2 separate regions of the Homo sapiens genome follow, and region 2 is linked to region 1. The links are contacts of gene promoters, found by promoter capture Hi-C in blood cells and fetal thymus (Javierre and others, 2016). All regions are on one chromosome and are shown on one strand. The core of a region is centred on a gene start or on the middle of the fragment in contact, and the rest is flanking DNA. Distances in the headings are between cores, read along the strand shown. Region 1 holds the start of SLC25A48 (solute carrier family 25 member 48). Region 2 has its middle 3.5 kb from the start of CXCL14.

Region 1 (5,897 bases), core at 1,411-3,910:
ATTCCCTGGGTCCAGAACCACCTGTCCCCTCTTATCCCCTCCTACCTACTAAACTGGGCAGAGGCAGAGAGGTGATGGCAGTAATTAACCCTTCCCAGTAGTGGGGGGAGGTGCGCTGGTCCTCAGGCTCCATGGCTTCCCCCATAGTGAGTGCACACATCCTTCAGCTCAGGGCAGGCTTAGATCCAGCCTTGGGCCAACATCTCCCTGCCACTTATTAGCCCACCCATCTGAAAGCAGGGGATTTGAGATTTAAAAAAATGGGATTATAAGGTCAGTGATTTCCAGACCTTGGCACTTCACAAACCAGTAAAATCTCAAACAAAATGTGTGTGTGTGTGGGGGGGGGGGGTGGGGGGGGGGATAATATCAAAAAAAGGGCAAAATTTTGTTATGCAAGGTTGTTCAGAAAGAGTTAAGATGAAATTAAGATGGCAGATTCTGGTGCCAGGCAGCCTGGGTTGGAATCCTGGTGCCAATGCTAGATGCATGGTCTTAGGCAAGTCAGTGAATTTCTCTGTATCTCAGTTTCCTCATCTGTAAAATAAGGATGCAACGGTACCTACCTCTTTGGGGTTGTTATAATAATTAAAGAACTATACATAAACTGACACAAGAGATCACATATTGCAAGATTCAATTGACATAACATATACAGGAAAGGCAAATTTACAGAAAGGAGATTAAGGAGAGGGAACAGCATTCAACTTCAAATGAGGGATCTTACTGGGGGATGAAAATGTTCTAAAACAAATTTATGGTGATGGTTGCACCTCTTTGTAAAATTACTAAAAGACATTGAATTGTACATTTGAAATGGGTGAATTTTATAATACATAAAATAAACCTTGATAAAATTGTTTTAAAAGAATACATATAGCACTTAAACTATACCTGGCACCTAGTAAGTATTCAAGTGTAGTAAACACTTACCATCATTTCATGGAAGCCAAAAAAAAAAAAAGCCATGTTATTAGTTTGGTGCAAAAGTAATTGCGATTTTTGCCATTACTTTCAATAACATCACCAAAGTAAGGACCAGAATAAAGCACAAAAATCCCCTACTTGCTGTGAGTCGGGGAGGGTTCACATGTTATCACGTTTGGGGATGGGGAGGGGTATCAGAGTCTTGGAACTACTCTGACTCAGCCCTACCTTCCAGGGCATTTTTCAAACCAAGCCATTTGCATCCCTACCGAAGGTGGTCTGCTTATTTAAGGGGCAGCCCACGGAAGTGTCTCCTCTCTCTGCCTGCCCCGCTGAATGGTGGAATAATTGTCCAGTCAAAAAGGACCTGGATATGCCCAGCGGGCCTCAGGCTGCAGCCCCCTAACTGGGAAAGTTAGGAGAGGCGGGTCTCAGCCCCACCCAAGGGCATCTGTGCCAACAGACTTACTCAAGGTGAAAGGAGCCACCTCTGCTCAGGAAGGTGTGAAGCAGGGCCCTGCAGCCACCGGTCTCGGGAGAGAGGTGGTCTCCTGCTAGGTAGGAGGGGAGGAGTTGGGATCCAATCTGGTTTGTTGTTCTTTTCATCTTATTTTTTCACCCCTTTGGTGAGGGGCTACATTTGCCAACATCCCTTTTAGGATAACCCTTTTAGATGGGTCCAAAGAAAGACTTTTTTTTTTTTTTTTTTTTTTTTTTACAATTAGCAAAGTCCCTCAAACTTCCCCCTTTCCTAATAGCTGAGAAAAGAGGGATAGACCAATTGGAAAGAAAAATGGAGAAGCAAGGAAATGAATGCAACTCTCGCCCAGGCAACCCATCCCAGGCCCAGTAAAAGAGTGGCTTCGGGAGCTGTGGCGAAGGGATCAGCAGACCCAACAGTGCCCGGAGAAGGGGCCTTGGAGGTAGGCGATGGCTGACGGTTGGCGGCGGCTGAAGGCAATAAGTGCTCCTCGCAGCCTGGCAATGGGCACCTGCAGCCGGCGCTCCGCTCCCTGCTGTGAGAGCTCTGCTCCCTCCAGTCGGGACGCCCCGTTGGGCCGGCCTAATCTCGAAGCCTGGCTCCCACCACCCTGCGCCCCGGGATCAGCAGCCAAGCGCTACCCTCATACATAAGTTCCCGCGAGCCACGTCCGCAATTCAGGTGTGCACCAGGTCACTGAAGGGTGTGTGCGCCGCCAGGAGCCTCCATTGGCTGTGGGCTTTGACGAGCTGTTTAATCATTACCTCATCAAGTCCCACGGATCCTAACTTAATGAGCAAATCAGAAGCTCAGCCCGAAACGCTGTGAAGCTCTCAGAATTTAGCCCTGGCAACTGCAAGACCACCAGGGGGATCTCGGGGCCGGGCACTCCCCAAAGCAGGCTGCGCGCACAACGGGGAGCGGGATGGCAGCGCACAGAGGCAAAGTTTCCTCAGAGCATAGAGGCAAACTCCGCCAGGCTCGCTCTCTCTGACCGGGGGTCCCCGGTAAGCACACTCACCTCCGATCCAGCCCGCCGCAAAGTCTTCCAGCTGGAAGCTTCCCATGGCCGGCGCTCGGTCTCGCCCTCCCGGAGCCGGGGCAGTGCCCACTTAGAGTCAGTGGGGCATGGCCCGCGGGCGCGAGCGCGCCGCAAGACCGAAGTCGGAGTCTCGAGCACGCCGCAGGTCCTACTCCAAACCCAGTCCCCCAGTCACCGGCTGCGCGGGCTGCCGCGCTCACCTCTCCAAGTGCCGGAGGGCGGCTGACATCACGCCCCCAGTGGACCTTAAAGGCACAGCACTCTGGGTGGATAAGGGTGCGCTCCGCGCGGCTCATCCCAGACACAAAGAGGCAAGGGTCATCAAGTGAAATTCTCTTAGTCCTCCCTTCTCCGGGTTATCCTCTTCCTTGCCAACTTCAGAGCCTCAGCGCCTTTGAACTGAAAGTGCCAGCCGCCCATCCAGAGACGGCAATGCGCGTATCTCCCTGTACTGTGCTGTGCTGACAATGCTGATTCCAATCAGCTGTGGACTCTCTCCCATCCCAACTCTGGGCAGTGATGCCTTTTTGTTCATCTCAGCCATGTCCCACTCAGTACCCCGTGCCTAGAGCAGGCACCTGGTGGTTCAGGGTCATGTCTAACTTTCAGCTACAGCTCTCTAGGGGCCCAGCTCCCTGCCTGGCCCTGGCTCACCCTACACTGTCCGCCCTGGGCCAACAGAAGGCAGAGGTGGTGCTCTGTACCTCAAACTCCCTCTCTGTAGGCAGACCCTACATTCAGCCAGGCCCCAGGCCAGGGGTCCGTGCTCACTGGAGAAGTGGCCTGCTGTGCGGAGAGGCTTTTGATTACAATGAGAGTGTCTTTCCTCCCTTCCTAAGAAGACTCGAAGCCCCCCAGCGTTCTGCTAGTTTCCAGCAGGGACTCAGCTGTGGGTCTCAGCCAAGACACCCCAAGGTTGACAAGAATGGTGAAGGGTATGGTCAGGAGGAAGGGGCCTCTGCTGGGCCTGCTCTTGTCCCACTGGGCATATTCATGTCACGTCATCCAGGTTAATATGAAGCGACAGCCAGCCAGACCTCCTTCTTCCAAAGCAAGACAGAGCCTGACCACCGAAGCTTGATCCTACAAAGGCCTGTCCACTGAGGAGTGGGGACTTGGAGGTGAAGGGACCTTCCTGCAGCATCACTCCCTCCCCTGCCCCGGCACACAGAGAGTGGACCTGTATCGGGAGAGGACAGCCCGGGATGGAGTCGCCGGCCTGGCTAGGGAAGTATTGCAAAGTTCCAGGGAGGAGTGGAAGCATCACACCCCATCCCGGCACCTCAACTTCCTGCTGCTTATGGTGACCCACTCAGTCTTGAGGCTTCAGAGTTGCCATCAGCATCAACCCCAAGCTGTGCCCTGTCATGCCCGGGATATATGCCTAGGGCTGCTATGAGAAATGCAGGTCTCTGAAGAGTGGCCTTTTACTGAGTTCACCATTGGAATGCATCCACAAGTGGAAAGCCTGACAATTCTCAAAACCCACTCCTCTGGAAGACCACCTAAGGGGTGCCAGGCAGTTTGTCATCCCCTCAGTCCTGTGTCAGCACCAATTGAGGAGGTCTTACGTTGGCAGGCAGTGTCCCTGGCAGCCCAGGATGGCCTCCCAGGCCCAGAAAGCTGCTGCTTGAACTACTAACGAGCTGGAGCAGAGCAGGAGTGGGTTGCTTTCCAAAATGAATTACTGTGCTCCATTCCCATATGCATGCCACAAACCTGCCCATGGGGCGCATCACCCAGGGAAGTGAGGGGAGGACCCTAGGTTTACCAGCAACCATGGCCAGGCCTGGAGAATCCCAGACCACAGGGCTATGAGCCCAGGCAGAATGCTGGCTCTGTGGCCAGGATCCAGGCCATCCCTTCTTCCTGGCCTTCGCACTTCAGAGCACCATTTGCAGTGTGCTGCCATTCACATTTGCATTCTACACTCGGGAGAGGGCAGGGCAGCTACTGGCCATTACAGAGAGAAAGAAACTCCACAGAGATCCACTCCCTGCATGACTAGGGCCAGAAAGCAACCCCATTTTCTTTCTCCCTCAGTTCCTTCCCCAATGATGACCTCTCAGAGCACTTTCCTCAGTAGCAGGACATGCAGATGGGCTATGCTGATAGCATTTGTTAACTAGTGGCCCACTCCCCATTTCTTATTTACCCTTTCAGGCCACAGCAATTTCCTGAGCATCAGTCTGTGCTAGTGCCTTGCTTTGGGGAAAGTCTCTGTTTGAGAGGAGACAATCCATCTGAGATGCTACACAGAGGTGGCTGTAAGAGCACTGGAGAGGGAGTCCATCGTTCTACAGGAAGCAATCAGGGAAGGCTCTCCAAACTTGGAGTCTCCTGGCTGCACCTTTAGTCTACACAGCCCCACAGCTCCCACCTCCCCAACCACTCTCTCAGGCAAGCCAACAATCCCCTCCCCATGTCCACCTGCCACACTCGGGCAGCAAAGGCCTGGGTCAGCTGTCCATGCCTGACCTGCTGCAGTGAAGGCGCTGCCCATGCCGCCTGCTCCCCTCTGCTTCCAGATTCCTGCCCTCACCCAGCTTTCCTCCTGCTTCTCCAGCTCTTCTCATCTTCTTCCCTGGTGCCATGGCCCCTTCTCATGCTTAGGTGTGAATTCCTCAGGGCCCCATCTGGACCCTCACCCACCCGTACCTCCCATCTCTCAGCGTATAACCCCCACACCTTGCTTCAGAGTCCAGACATCCCTCTACTCAACACCTCCACCTGGGTGGCTCGGGTCATCTTAGCGCATCCCTCGATGAACTCTCTCTTCCTCCGCCAGTGCCTCTTCAACTTAGAGAAACACACCTCCACCCAGTGGCCACCCAAAACAGAACCTTGGATGCCATCCTCCATTTCTCTCTCCCAAGGTCTTATCCCACCAGCCGCAAAGTCCTGAGTGTCCATCCCCTCAATGACACCCAGCCCTCATTGCTGTCTCCGAATGTGGCTCAGCCCAGCCCTGTGCCACTGCCCTGCCTGGATCACAGTGGACACGGGTTCCTGGGTCCCTCTGCCCCTGTCCTACTGCCCCAGTGAGCTTCTGAAACTTTGAATCTGCTCAGTTTAGTGAACTTTGATGACTTTCTGTGATCTTGAGCATAAATTCCAATTCCCCAGTGTGTTGTGTGTAGCTCAGTAGGACTGGGTCTGGCTGCTTTTCCACTTTGCACCTCAATGTCTCACATTCTGTGCATGTGTGTGACTGCGCACATGCTATTCCCTTGTGGGGAACACCCTCTCCCTCCTCCCCTGGCTAATCCCTGCCCCCTTCTTCTTTAAGACTCAGTTCAGCTGTCACCTCCTGACAGGCCTTTCTTGAAGGCCTTCCTCATCACCCTATGCCACATGGTATCTTCTAGATCTCATCTGTGTTTCCTGAATATTCTGAGCATATCTGTATCTCTGCTGTCAGACTCAGTGGTTGATTGTCTTCCCATC
Region 2 (5,897 bases), core at 938-3,437, 250 kb after region 1:
TGTGTGCAGTCAAGGAGGGCTTCCCTGTAAAATGACATCTTCGCAGTTTCAGGAAGGCAAACGAAAGCAAACAGCCTAGCCAAGGAGACAGGACTTGGCGGTGCCTGCACAGAGGCCTAGGACTCTGCTGCAAACATGGAACAGGGCTGGTGAGAGAGGCAGGAGGTGGGGCAGAGCAGAATGAGGACAAGTGAGGCCGGATGGAGGGGCTGCTTGTTCCCCTGTGCCAAGCAGTGGGGGACAGCTCTAAAGATGGGCCTAGACCCTCACCATGGGACTCACCCAAGCCACCAACAACTCTACCTGCCTCTCTGCAGTGCCACCTGCACAGCACAGGTGCTCATCGCCCATCGCCAGCGTCTGCTCAGTGAGGCTGAAGGCTGCCCAAGCCCTCGCTGAATCAACTGCTCCTGAGTTGCTGTTATAACAAGAACATTCTGAAAAACTGGAAAGCAAGGAGAGAAGCTTTACAACAACAATGCCCAACATTTCGCCACTCAAAGAGAATGACGTTTGTAACTCTGTCTTGCCATCCTTTGTACAGAGGTTACTGTTTTGCATACTTATAATCACAGTGTTTACACAACCTTGTGTTTTTTCTACTTACTGCATAAGCATTTACTCCACAAATTTAGAGCTTTCATTGTTTTCTTAATCCCCCATTGTTGGGCATTTAGTTTAAATCTTTATTTTTAACAAGGACTAGCTTTGCATGTGGTATTTCTCCATTATGAGAATTTTAAACAGATTTCTGAAGTGGTTAATAAGATGAAATGGTTTACTTCAAACAGTCTGGATACCATACTATAAATATAACTTCCCCAAATTTTGTACCAATTGATAGTCCCATGAGTGATGCTTAAGTGATGCTTCCTCACTTTACCATTATCAGCTTTGGATGTTGCTATTTAAAATAAACATTTCCTCATTGAGTGGGACCAAAACCAAAATGCCGTGATCCTGCAGCACTGCTGTGCTTTTCCTTCATTGCCAAAGAGGATGCATGTTCTTTGATGAATTGGTTAATTGCCTTTCTTTTTCTCCTGAATTGTCCTTTGATGTCCTTTGCTCATTTATATGTTAGGGCCCTCTTCGGAAATATCTTTGCATGTGTTCTTAATATAATAAAGATGCTTGCCTGTAAGGGAGTGTTGTTGGATGAATAGATGGTGGAATAAATGCTACTTGTTGGTTTGTCATATTTGCTGCAAGCATTTTCTCCCATGTTTAGGGGAATCTTGCAGTGCCCCCTGTGACCCATCTGAGTAACAGAGCCCCCCTACATACACTCTGCCTCGGGGCTGCTTTAAGCCTAATTCAATACTGCCTGGCTGTCCCCCACATCATTTTCTCTGGGCTTAAGTTACTCAGGATCTCTAAATATTTGCAGTGTGAAGAACAAAACCAGAGGTTGTTCTTGGGAACCTTGGTCCTTCAACTTCCTTCACCCCAGAGCATGGCCAGGGAAGGGGTCAGCATGCAGGGCTGTAGCTGAAAGAAAGCTGCACAGAGGAGGCAGCTGGCTGCCCAGACTCCACAGGCTGCAGGTGAACAGACAGAGGGAGGAGCTGGAGAGGGAGAGGCACCCGCCAGGCTTGGATTCAGAGCCAGCAGCCACACAACACAATGGAAGCAGGTATTTTGGGGTGACCCACCATGTCATGAGTGGTGATGGGGCCAGACAGGTTACTGGAGCCCAGGATCTTGCTCTGGCCTAAGTAGCTAGGTACAGGACACAGAGACAGGAGGCTGGCTAACATTAATGCACAGGGAGATCTTGTATGCAGTCAACCCCATTGCTGGGCCTCAGTTTCCTCATATGTACAATGAAGGCCAGTTGTGGCCTCAGCCTCTACCAGTGCTGAATTCTAGGATTCCTGTCCTGCCAGGGAAGTAAAAAGGACTCCTCTTCTGAAAAGAAGGTCAGTCACGAAAAGAACTAAAAGAATGGGGGAAGGAATTGCCCTGGATCCCAGCTCCCAGGGCAGAAAACCAGCCTTGACCAGTCAAGACCCCTTTCTAAGCAGACCAAGGAGGTAGTGCCCAGACACCTGTGGGATTTCCTGGAAAGTCACACTCCTGTTATCACCACCTCCTCTTCCCAGAGACTTCATCTCTAAAACAAATGCCCTGAGGATGAACTGGCTTCCCTGGGAATATGGACTCCCCATGGCCACCCCTACACACACGCAAACACACACACACACACACGCACACACACTTTCTCACATGCAACCTTGTAGCCTGTGCAGCCTGGATTCAGCAGTACTCTCACATGCTGAGCTGTTGCCTGAAACATGTTTTTATTTACTCCACAGATAGGGAGTGAACCCCTGCTACATGCCAATCACTGTTGTAGATACTGAGGATGAGCAAGACAGACACCCACAGACACAGACAGATCATCCACAATGCACCCCCAAATAAATATGAAAATGTACAATTTGAGGTTGCTGCACATACAATGAATAAACTAAAATCGGTGGCAACACAGAGAGGGACTGTTGTTGGGGGTATGCTCGTGGGATTAGAACTGGATGGTGAATATTGGAGCCCAGGCTCACTGAGGAGAAGAGGGTTGCCTGTCAGCCCCTGGGGAGGAGCACTGCAGGTGGAGGGGCCAGTGAGCACAAAGACCCTGAGGTGGGAACAGGCTTGGATGTTTGAAGGTAAGACAAGGCAGAGTATCTGGAGCACAGCCTGTGGGGAGCATGGCAGGTGCTGGTCATGATTGGGTGCGCACTGCTGGGGACTTGGCTTCCACTCTGCATGAGATCGGGAGCCAGTAAAGGGTTCAGAGCAGGGACTTCCCCCAGGAGATCACTGTGTGAGCAGCAGGGACCATGAAGGGCCAGGAGTGGCCTCCCTCCTGTGGTCACTGGTTAATTCCTTTCCATCCTTCATATCTAACTCAATGGCCCTTTCCTCCAGGAATTTGTCCCCACCTCGTCACCCTGTCAGATCCCCTGATGAGTCTCCTAGCACCAACCACCCTCCAGGACACTGACCTCTGCAGGAGTTTCACACTGATCTCTGTGGTTTATAGCTAATGTCTGCCTTCCCCACTAGACTCTGAGCTGCTTGGGGACAGGCACACAGCTGCCTTGGCTCACCTCAAACCCCCAGCACCTCGTACAACGCCTGGGACACAGTGGGTGCTCAATAAATGTAAAGAGAAGAAATAAGCAAATCCCTGGGGTCTCAGCAAAATTTCCACTCCCTCAAGGAGTGATGTCCTGTTTCCACTTCCTCCCTCCTCTGTGCCCCCACACTTCACGTCTACCTCTTCTGTAGAATCCAGTATGACCATGAATGTGTTGACATCTGCACACATGCATACACACACACAGGCAAGGCATGTGTGCTGTCCTTCACTGTACCCCAGGGACCTCCTTGAAGCAGACAGTGCCACTGTACAAAGAACGGCCTCACACATGCCCACCTGCTCAGAGGCCCTCGGCTTGGGCTCACTAGACAGTCTGTGCCCTGAAGGTGTGTCAGGGGCCAAGCCCCCTCCCTCACCCAGTTAGGCAGCATCCCCCACAGACCTGCTGGCAGCAGGGGCCTCATGCTCTCCTGTACCATGGCTCCAGAAGAACTCACACAAACAAGGGCTCAGCTCTGCTTGCACAGTGGCTGCCTTCTGCAAACCAGAGATCTGCATACACAGACTGAGGAGTGTAACTGAGGACAAAACACTGGGACGTCTGACCTCTGGTCCAGCCCAAGAAGCTGGGGAACGTTGGTCCATATTTCTAGAGCCAACTACTTTTTCCTGTGAAAACTCAGTGCCCACGATCGCTGGTGTTGTTAGATCCCAGTTAATCAATCAACATATTCTTGAAACAAACATGTTAGAAATAAAATCGTTAATAAAAAATAATACTTTACATGCTCTAGGAAAGCTTGGTATTTAAGAAATTCCTTTGCAGCATAAAATATATTTTTTTGGAAAGCAATTGGCAATTTCTATGAAAAGTCTTAAAATGGGCATGTGCCATGGCCCCATGATTCTATTTCTGAGGGCTGATCCAATGTATTAAAACCTACCCCAAAATGGAGCTACAAGAATATTTGTCAAACAGCATTGGTTGTAAGAGGGTAAGGTTGAAAACAATCCAAATGTCCAGCAAGGAGTAGTCAAATTAATTCTGGTACATCTGTATGACGGAATACTCTGCAGCTAAAATCATGATAACCGCAATGGTCAGCACATATCAAACACTTACTCTGTGTTGGGGACCACATTAAAAGCATTACATGCACTATCTCATTTAATTCTGCCTATGCTGTACATATTATTATCATCTCCATCTCACAGATGAGGAAACCAATACCAAATAGAGTTAAGGTATTTGCCCAAAGTCACACAGCTAGTCCCTAGGATGCATACTCAGGCAATTTGACTCCAGACACCAGCCTCTTAGCCATTATACTACCCGGCCTCAGATGAAACCATTAAGGGAGCTATTGTTGTAGCAAGGCTAGCCACATGGAGCGATGTTCACAATATGCTAATAGGTATAGCAAGCAGGTTATTAAAGACTACATGCAGCCTGATCCCATGTGTACATGTGCACACAAAGCAAAAAGAGGATGCTTTGGGAAGATTTCACCCAAGATTTTACTTGCGTGAAAATGTTAGTTTTCTTCTGCTTGGGTTTTCTGATTTTTCTGGGCAAACGTGTTGTTTCTATATTTTAAAAAATTATTTTTAGAGTTAAAAACTAACATAAATGCCAAAAGTCACTCCCTCATACTCATCTCATGCATAAATGCAAATGTCCAGCTATTGGCTTTGCTTTAGGTATAGGCACAACAGCACGCATAGGCGCTGCTTGCTTTTCATGGCTCAGCTTCTTCTTGAAGCAGCAAGGGCTCTCCAGTTGGGAAGAGACGACACAGATTCTTCCCATTGCACCCTTCAGCAGACTGTCCCCATCATCCAGAAGCCCTCTGGGCATTTTTGCCTCCAGGGAACTGCCAGGCTGATGGCATAGAGCTGGGTGAGCTCTCTCCTGACAGCCAAGCCCAGGGACTCCAAGAGCTTGAGATGATCCACCTCCTGTCTCTGGGTCTCTCAAGGCAGCAAGAAGTGAAGGGCAGACAGGCCTCAAAGCAACAGAGTGGTCCAGGGACAGGAGTCCCAGTTCTGCAGCCGTATATACTGAGGACCCTCCTGGCCTAGTCACCTGCTTCCTAGCTCTGTGACCTTGGACAAGTTATTTCTTCTCTCAGAGCATGTTTCCACACCTGTCAAATAAAGAAATTAAAAGTACCAACTTGGAAGAAAAGTACCAATTGGTAAGAATCAAAGTAATAGATAAATTAGACATAAAACGATGGTGCCAATAAGTAACATTTCCTGGGTACTGACAACATGTATGATTTCTATAGTTCTCACAGCCACCCTATCAGAAACACTGTGATGATCTGCACTTTACAGATGATGAAACAAAAGCTGAGAGCGGTAAAGTCACTTGTGCTGGAAAGTAGTGAGGAGGGAATTTCTGCCACTATGGCTGGGCTCACACCACTATACCTCGCATTCTGGCACAATGTCTAGAACATGGGAAGGCCTTCATCCAGATGGTTACCACTGTCATCGCTCTCCACTAGGGCTCTCTACCTGGCTTTGGAGAGTAGTGTGAGAGTGAGGACTCCTCCTGGTTCTCCCCACCACCCAGACACTCACACAGCCACCAGGCCACTGACCCACTTTAAGGAGCTTTCCTTTGGGAGTCACCAAAACTCCTCCCCAATACCCGTCCCCACCCCCGCATACACACACATACCCTCTTTGAGTCAGTTCCAGTGATCACAGTCAATGACTTTGCTGCTGGACAGTCTATGACAAGCCCCTGTCCAGAACTGGCCTTGTGTTCTGGCCCAGCAGG

What was found. The method cuts DNA at HindIII sites, captures the fragments that hold promoters and counts their contacts. A CHiCAGO score of 5 or more calls a contact.
Region 2: a fragment that was not itself captured here is called in contact with the fragment with the promoter of SLC25A48 in region 1 in 3 of 17 cell types (M1 macrophages, M0 macrophages and megakaryocytes); the score reaches 6.8 in M1 macrophages.

What each region holds. Positions count from the first base shown.
Region 1 is chr5:135,831,426-135,837,322 of GRCh38, reverse strand. It overlaps SLC25A48 (solute carrier family 25 member 48), which reads right to left and starts at 2,660. Exons shown (of 8, transcript NM_001349336.2): 1 at 2,430-2,660. The coding sequence starts at 2,475. RefSeq lists an enhancer at 3,194-3,695. The HindIII fragment of the contact is 1,059 bases long and covers 2,470-3,528 here.
Region 2 is chr5:135,579,496-135,585,392 of GRCh38, reverse strand. It overlaps a transcript of SLC25A48 not described here. Among named protein-coding and RNA genes, the nearest start is that of CXCL14, 3.5 kb to the right of the region's middle. RefSeq lists an enhancer at 149-650. The HindIII fragment of the contact is 3,440 bases long and covers 468-3,907 here.